Linked DNA regions of Homo sapiens: region 2 is linked to region 1. Evidence: promoter capture Hi-C in human tissues and cell types (Jung and others, 2019). All regions are on one chromosome and are shown on one strand. The core of a region is centred on a gene start or on the middle of the fragment in contact, and the rest is flanking DNA. Distances in the headings are between cores, read along the strand shown.

What was found. Contacts are between HindIII fragments. The study calls those that stand out against the background at their distance.
Region 2: a fragment that was not itself captured here is called in contact with the fragment with the promoter of NGF in region 1 in 1 of the 25 tissues and cell types used here (aorta).

Annotation. Positions count from the first base shown.
Region 1 is chr1:115,335,371-115,339,829 of GRCh38, forward strand. It overlaps NGF (nerve growth factor), which reads right to left and starts at 2,879. Exons shown (of 3, transcript NM_002506.3): 1 at 2,834-2,879. All of the region lies in intron 1 of NGF-AS1 (NGF antisense RNA 1), which reads left to right. The HindIII fragment of the contact is 13,066 bases long and covers 1-4,459 here.
Region 2 is chr1:115,397,671-115,402,232 of GRCh38, forward strand. No RefSeq gene overlaps it. Among named protein-coding and RNA genes, the nearest start is that of NGF, 62 kb to the left of the region's middle. The HindIII fragment of the contact is 3,531 bases long and covers 394-3,924 here.

The sequences.
Region 1 (4,459 bases), core at 1,629-4,128:
GTCTTTCATCCTCATTTATTTACCCAATGCCAGTGTACACTGTTTTCTCAAAATGGTCCACCACAGAAGTGATTTCTCAGAACTGGCTAAGCCTGAGAGCTGATGGTTTGTGAGATCAGCTAGTGAAAGAAACACACAGGAACTCTTTCTGTGTCACAGAAAGGTGTTTTCTGGGAGCATGGGTTGTTTGCACACAGATATCCAGAGATTTTATGCAAGCCGTCAGCAAACCTTCCACTGCTTCCTGAGATCAGAGAATTTGCTGCCAGCAAAGGTCTCTTAAGGCTTGCTCTAGACTCTGAAGTCAGTGAAAGTTCTTACTTGGAAAAGGTAAATGGCTGGGCCTCTGCTCCCAGGTCTGGCACTGACATCTGCTTGGGGATCTGGGCCTTGGCCCTACTCCATGCCCAGTAGAGAAGAGCAGTGGCTGAATCTCTGTGTAGTTTCCCTGCTGCTCTGATGCAGGGTACTGCAGTAAAGCACTCCATCAATGAGCAGCAGGAGTGCTCAGCACTCTTTAAAAAGTAAAGTTGTGTGATTTTTTTCATCAGTTTATTCTCGGTAATGATGAGAAACTTCCCTCGGGCTCCAGCCCTGCCCTGCCCTACCCTACTCTCCCTGCTGATGTCGGCAACCAGGGCCCCCTTCTTGTCCAAGGCACAGATTTCTCCCTGAAAGAGAATGAGAGTGTGAAGCCTCATTCCTTGCTCCCACTGGCCCTTGGGGCAGGAGAGTTGTGGGGTGGGCAATAGGAGAAGGCAAGAACCTCATTCCTTGGTACAGGTTAAAAGTAGGGAAAGAGTCACCAATACCGGGATGACTGCCCTGAGTGGGCCCAGTTCATTTCTCTGGTGGGCCTGGGCTGCTGTTGGAAATGCAGTGGTGCCAGCAGCTGGTTCTAAAATCCTCTGAGGTGCTCCTATACTTCTGTCAAATTAGTGTTCTCATGCCCCAGTGATCTTGGCTTCCCATTTTTGGTGCTTCCTTTTTCCCTTCACCTGCATAAAGATGTTGGGGAAAGAGTGGGGTAGGAGTTTGGCAACATGTGGCATTAACCCTATCCCCCTTCAACAAGAGGAATGTTCACTTTCTGTGTGAGTCAATTCCAGCTAGGCCAGTCTCAGCCCCCAGACCCGCCTGTCTCCTCTGACCCTCTGGAAACACTGCCCATCATGAATTGACATTTGGGTTGCTCAGGTTGACGTATGACTTATTCAACAAAAGAGACCCATCAGGTTTGATACAGCCTTTCTTCTTTCTTCTGTGACTCTGCAGAGGGAGAAAGTTTCAGACATTCAGGAGGAAACTGTAAACACAGGATAAGAAGGGCTGGCAGGGGCCAATGGCTGCTGCCCTTCTGCACTGCCTCGAGAAGGGGAAAGATTCCCTTCCAGCAGACTTAACTGACGGCTTCAAGAGTTTGAGGACCCTGGAGAGAAGTTACTGATGGGGTCTCCACTGTCATTTCTGCATTTGCAGAGTGCAGCTGGCTGTGCATGGATTGGGGAGGAGGGGACTGGCACTGGCAGTGGGTGTGCCCAGAGGATGGAGCCAGAACAATTAATCAAGTGACTTTTCTACAGGATTTCCATTGGCCTTGGATGACAGATGGGGCAGAGGCACCCAGGAGAGCACTATTTTGGTTTCCAGCTGGGAACGTGCACTAAGTTTTCCTTAATACCCACAGCACCCAAAAGGCTTTGCTGTAATACACTTTAATGCATGAAACACTCATAAATTATCCTTCGAACTGTTACAACTTCCAACCTGGAACAACTTGGAAAAACCAGCCTAGCAAGCAGGCTCTTTTTTAATCTCTCAAATCACAAGAGAAGAAAAAGTTCAAGCACGAAACACCTTCCTTAAGAATCTCGAAATTTTTTTTGTTTTGTTTTTGTTTTTTTTTTTTTTTTTTTTTTTTTTTTTTTTTTTTTTAGAAGGAGGTTTGTAATTAGAGGGAGCTAAGCTGCTTGTTTCTGCTGGCTCAAAGTTGCAGCTCCCTGACCCCTGAGTCCTCTCTCCCTCCCCTAGATCCTCCTCGCCTGAACTCAAGGCGCTCCCCGCCCTAACCTTCCACGCCCGCTTCTCCCACACCTGGCAGCAGACAGCTGGAGATGAAGCGTGTGACCCAAGTGGCAGGGCTGAACCTTGGCGACCTCTACCTGAGGTTGTCCAACGCGGCTCCGTGGAGGGCCCCGGTACGCCGGACGGACCCCGGCGTTGGCTCGCAGACTTCCTGCGTTAACCCCCGGGGCCCTCAGTCACGACTCCCAGCCCTTCCGAGACGCGCTGAGGGAACTGCCCCAGGTCTAGCGCGCCCCGTTCCGCTCCTCCCCCTACCTGGGGGCCGCGCAGCACTTTCCCTACTCGGCGCTCACCTCAGCCAGCGCGCTCTGCGCTCCCCCCGCGGTGCTGGCCGCCACTCCTCCCGCCCTGGCGCGCCAGCTGCCGGCGCATCCCTCTCCGCGCCCATTCGCTCTCCCTCACTTGCGCGTTATCCACTTCTAGCCCTCGAGCTAGACCCTGGCATGGCCGTGGGCTTCTGCAGGCGCCAGGGCTGCTCCCTGGACTGCAGGCCATCCTGGGACTAGGGACTCCACGACCAGAACTAACGCTGTTCCCTCGGTCCGACTCGTCCTCCCGCGAGGGTCCCGCGCCCCCACACCCACTCGGGACATTTCTCAGGGCTGCTCTTCGGCCTGCGGGAGCCTCGGGGGTAACCAGAGAGCTCGCCAGACCGGTATCCTTGCAAACTCTCCCGCGAAGCCCAGCCACCCCTGCCCGCGCCCGCGCTGCGCCCCTCTCGGGATCGGCTCGGGGCAGCCTGACTCACCGCTGCGCTCCCCTCCGGCTCCCAGCGCTCTCTGCTGTGCCGGAGCGCCGAGCTGCTCTCACACAGGCTTCTTGAATTCTTAGCCCCTCCTCCCGTACTCCTGAGTCACACGCTCCAAATCCTGGCCCCCATCCCTCCCCTCCCCACCACCAGCCCCGCACCTGCTGTGGCTGGGCTGTGGTGCCCGGCTGGAGGGGGTCCTGGGGACTACAGACGGATCGCTCCTGGAGGGCTGGCCAGACCCAGCCAGAGAAGGACTTTAAACCTTCAGAGGTCAAAGGGAAACCCACTGGGGTCTGAGGGGCCGCGCGCGCAAAGCCGGGAGGGGGAGTTTCTGGGGCACCGGCAGGGGTCGTTGGGCCGACTGGCTGGGGCTGGGCGGAGTTGCTCGCAGCTTCCCTCACCTCTCCGCCCTGCCCCCGCGCGTTGCCCTTCGCCAGTGCCTCCCTGGTCTGCCCGGCGTCGCCCTCGGTGCCCCAGGCATCGGCTGCTCCTTTTCTTCGGGGCGCCTTTCCTTATCCCAGGATAGGTGAGCACCCAGGGGGAGCTCCGCGAGGGGCAGGTGCCCAAGCTCCTCTGACAAGGGAAGGCGGCTGCAGAACCAGCTAGAAGGCCCCCAGGCCCGGCAAGTCCAGCATGGGGACAAGGGGCAGAGGACTTCAGGAGTCAGGAGCTAGAGCCGGGACCTTAACTTAAGGCCCTGGGTTCCAGGAACTTCCCGGAGTCCTTGGCCCCTCTGAAACTGTAGGCTGATTTGCGCGACTGTGTGCAATGCTAATATTCTTTTCTGAGCTGAAGGTCCGCAGCTTTCATCAGTTTTGCAAGGGGTCTGTGACCCCAGACTGATATAGCCAGCAAACCCTAGGCCCCCATGCCCCCCTCTCCACACTCCAGGCCCCACACAAATTCTTCCTGACCCTTCAAAATTTCTTGAGTTCCCTCGATTCAGCCTGACAGGAGAGCTTGCCTGACTTTCCCCTGCCCCTCTGCCAGGGCTGTTCCCACCCCAGCATAAAATGAGCAAGGGAGAAATACCCCTGAAGTCAAATTTGTCACCAAATGTGCATCATTAATTGTAGCATTCCAGGGGATTCGTAGCTCTTTGGAAATTTACAGCCCCACTCCCTCCCGTGTTGAGCTTGTCTGTGCCTTCGCTTCTTCCTATAGCAAAGGTGGGTTGGACCCCTACCCTGTATGGATGCCACAGAGGAGAAGTAGGTGTGAGGAGAGTAACAGGGAGGGAAGGTGGGGCACAGAATCTCCCTATTGCTGGTAACACCAGCCAGTGCAACTTAGCAGAAGGGCACCCTCCAGGGAACTGGGATTTAGTGAAGCAGATGATTCCTGTCCTAAGTCTGGGGGTGGTCATTTACCCTTAATGGATGGCACTTGAGCAAGATGAAGCCCTGACTAGGCATTTCCAACTCCCTTGATTCAGATTAGTCTTGAGGTCTTACTTCTTTCTATTTTCACGTTTGCTCCCATAAGAAAGTTCATTCCATTTACACATGCTCTGAGAAGGATGAAATAGGCAAAAAGCCCTGGAATTGGAAGTCAGCCTTAGCTTTGGTGTGACCTTGTTGTTTCCCAGCCTTAGGCTTGTCCACTTCTGACTTGTTCAGATAC
Region 2 (4,562 bases), core at 909-3,408, 62 kb after region 1:
TGTTGGCTTTATTTAGATCCCATTTCAAACTTCCAACTTAGAAAAAGTTTAAAAATAAAAAGAAACATGTATAGAACATTAAAGGACATTTGATAATATTAAGGAATTATGTTGGGTGTGTTTGTGATGATGGTATTGTGATTGTGTTTAATAAGGAATCCTTGTCTTTAGGAAGTATATACTAAATTATACAGATGAAAATTTTAAAGCACACAATAAAATCAGATCATAAAGTAAAAACATTTTATAGATAAAAATTATTCTAGAAAAATCCTTTAATTTGTCCAAAAATACAGAACGAAGTCTATCATCTTTAAATAAATCTAATGGTTTTACCCTTACTCTTTGAACAAATGAGTGTTTCCATGTTCCAAATGAAATAGAAGGCATATATTTAGGAGCCAAATTGCATAGAAATGTGTATTATTAAATTCTGAAATCACAGGCAGTGAGGGCATATAGTTGAATTTATAAAAGTTAAATGTGCATCTGATGGGACCCTACTGTGGCAAATGCTAAACAAGGCATTCTACCCTCGCACAGTACCACATAATTCACAACATACGGCAAAGCACTTGTGGCAGGAGGGTGGTAAGTGGGAGGGAGAGGGAGTAGTTCAGGCACTTGACCTACAAGCTCCAAGGCAAGGGAATAGTCAGGGTGAGAGGCAACATTTGGCATCCAGGTCAGAGCAAGAACAAGTGTCAGCTTGGGCCATCCTGATGGGTAAAGACATTCATTCATTCATTCACTCACTCGTTTTTAAAACTTTTATGGAACACTGTGTGCTAGACACTATTGTACATGATGAGGATACAAAGATGAACACGTGATCCCTTTTCTCTCTTTGCTCACAGTCAAGTATGGAGAAGAGATAAGTGGATTAGTGATTGCAGTGCAACTTAATGAGTACAGATATGTACACATTATATGATGGCGTATTATACATTATACACATCCACACCTGGGTAGGCTTCCAAGAGGAGGTGATGGTCAAGATAAGCTTTGGAGCATGAATAGAAACCAATACAGAGGAGAGTTGGGGACAGAGGGAAAAATGAGTATGTATTTGAGAGCCTGCGAACAAAGAGGCCAAAGGTAATCTGGGAAAAGCAACATCTGAGAAATGCAAACAACTTGCTGTCCAAGAAAAAGATAATAGATTTGGGTCCTACGGGAAATTTCAGTCTTGGGTATTGAAACAAAAGTAGGAACTCCACTCCTGATAGTAGGTTCTCAGATCATAGCAGTGTCAAAGTCCAGTTATCTAAACTAGGGTTTAGGGCAGGGGAAAACTGGCAGAGGCCTGACCTGCACTGCATTATGGAACTGGAGCTGCTTTCCTCCTTCATTCAACAAGTATTTGCTGGGTACCTACTCTGTGTCAGGCACTGTGCTAAGTGCTGGGAATATAAAAGCAAACGTCGTCCCTGCCTTCAGCTTGAATACCTCTTGCTGCCTGCAAGTTGGCAGGATGAGCTTACTGAGTCTTACAATAGGTCTGATTCTGTTGCTGTGCTTAGAAGTATTAAGTACTTGGTATTAAGAGCTTGTGGTTATGGATCAAGTGGATCAGCTTGGGGAAAAGTCAGGGTTCAGATTGGAAGCCCAAAGCTGGCAGGGCCCACCAGAAAGGGATGGGGAAAATTAGGACCTGTTGAATTCCCATTTTCACACCAACTTTTGTGCCCAACTTGTGACTGATAAAAGTAGGCTCTGGTTTGTTTATTGTTAACCATGGATACAGGCAGTCCTGGTGATCTGGGCTTTCTGTCAGCCTGCTACATGGATGAACAAGTCACTGGTGGAAGAAGCTTGTGCTCATAGGCATTGAGGTTGTGTTTAGAACCAAAAGCTTCCCTTCTCCTTTCTCTCACTTGTTTTTGGATTCTAGCCTGTCTAGTAGTGGGAGTCTCTACCACCAAGGTTAAAATTGTGGCATTGTTCAGGGCTTAGGGTTGGCCTCAGGTATGTGAATGCTTGCTATATCTTGGTGATTTCCCAGTCCTGCTGAATGTCCTGAGGAACATGAGGAGAAGAACTGTTTCTGATCTGCCCTCCCTCTTCTCCTCTGCAGTGGCCTGAATGTTTGTGTTACCCCAAAATTACTGTGTTGAAATCCTAACCCCCAAGGTGATAGTATTAGGAGGTGGGGCCTTTGGAGAGTGATTGATTAGGTCATGAAGGTGGAGTCCTCATGATTGGGATTTGTGACCTTGTAAGAGACCCCAGAGAGCTAGCTAACCCCTTCCACTATGTAAGGACATAGCAAGAAGGTGCCATCTCTGAACAAGGAAATTGGCCCTCACCAGACATTGAATATGCTGCTGCCTTGATCTTGGACTTCTCAGCCTCCAAAACTGTGAGCAATAAATTTCTGTTGTTTATAAGCTACTCAGTCTATGGTATTTTGGTATAGAAGCCCAAATGAACTAGGACATCATCTATAATATCAAAAGCCTAATGAACTTTCAAAACCACCTCTTCCATGGAACATTTAATAATAACCATCTGTTTATCATTTAATCATCCTTCCATCTATCAATCCATCCACTCACTTATTCAACAAATATTTATTAAGTATCCACTATGTGGTAAACCTTGATCCCTACTGCAAGGAGCTTAACCCCTCCAGCCTACAGGGATCTCTTTTTCTGACCTGCTATAGTTCTCTTTGGATAGTTAGTCCCCCATTACCTCCTACTGTGACTCAACTTTTCATAGATTTATGACTGGTCTCCCGGTACAGTTATAAGCACAGCCTACAACTGTGTCTGATACTGTTCTGATATCTATCACAGGGCAAGGCCAGCATCCTGGACTTTATTGAACACACAGATAGTGTTCAATCCGTGCTTTTGAATGAATGCATGCAGGCACAAATATCTGCCAAGGTAGGAGTGGAAGGTTCCATTGGCGATTGTACTGGGGCTTTGAGACACTGACTCACCCCCTTCCCTAGCAGGCCTGCACTGGCCTGTGGATGCGGACTGAGAAATGAGGTGCTTTGCACAACGATAAGAACTGAGAACAAGGAACACAGAGTTATAATAAAACTTAAAAAAAAAAAAGTGAAACCTGGCATAGTGGCTCATGCCTGCAATCCCAGAACTTTGGGAGGCCAAGGTGAGAGGATTGTTTGCGTCCAGGAATTCAAGACCAGCCTGGGCAACATAATGAGACTCCTGTCTCTACACAAAATAAAAATAAAATATTAGCTGGTCATGGTGGTGCATACCTGTAGTCCTAGCTACTCAGGAGGCTAAGCTGGGAGGGTCACTTGAGCCTGAGAGGCTGAGGCTGCAGTGAGCTGTGATCATGCCACTGCACTCAGCCTGGGCAACAGAGTGAGAGCCTCTCTAGAAAAAGGTGAAATCTGACTCTCAACATCCTTATTGAGGATCAGTGACTGTAGCTGTTTTGTCAGAGTGCCATAGGGGCAGGTGACATCCTGCCATGTCATCAGGCTCTTACTGCAATCTGATTGGTTCTAGACCAGAAACTCTCATATGACTACAAGCCAAGGCAGGGGAAAAAGGGTGGGGTGTCTTAGTCTTGATTATCAAAACCATCAAACTTGTCTGTCTTGCAGCGCTATAGAATCTCAGGATCTCAGGTCTTGGGCACCATTTCTCACTTGTGAATTTCTGTGCTTCTAAACTGTGATAAAGGTTAGTCTTTAGTCTTTAGCAAATTCCAAGTAGAATAAGTTGGGATGCCCCAGCCTTTATCTAATTCACTCTTCCTCCCCTCTTTTCACCTTATCAGCAACCCCATTTTTAGCCATGGTGCCAGCAGTCTGATGAAAGAATCTGATAAATTTATTTGTACTGAGGTATAAAAGACACCTGCAGGTATGGCTACATTTAGGATGAAATCTCATGATAGAGAAATGAGAATCTACCAGTGGAAGCTCAGGTATCATTACTTGGCAGTAGACATGTAAGAAACATTTAGGGAAAACATAAAGTGCCTCTAAAATTACACTAATTGTCAATGAATTGGTATGTCTGATCTTCCATCTCTCCTTACCCTTGATATCAGGCAGCTCATCCTAACCTCAAATCTTTTTAAAAATCAACCTCTTAATTTTCACTATTGAGAAGAGTTGAGTAATACACAAAGGGCACAATTTCAGATACTTCTTTTTCCCAAATGCTTCTGTTTCTAGAGTGTGATCACGTGGGTCTTTAACAGAATTGGCTAGAAATGCTGAGGTTGTCAAATTTCAAAACAGAGTTACTTTTGCTGACTTAAAAGATGAACACATGCCATAAAATCAGGAGCTGTTCAGTTATCTAGTGAATTTAGGGTCATTCTAACTGTCTACACTGATAATTCAAGGCAGCAAAGTTGTCACAGTATGATTTATACTCATTGGCTGCCAGGATAATTCTGAGCTTACGAGGGGAGTGGTCAATTCTATGAGTACTGGAAATCAGAAAATACTTCTTGATTTGAACTCCTGACCCTGGAAAAGGGCCACTTTTCCCATGAAGTGTTTTCTGACTTCCAATTGACCACCCCCCTCATTGGGACACTCAACAAGGCCCCTTCCGCTA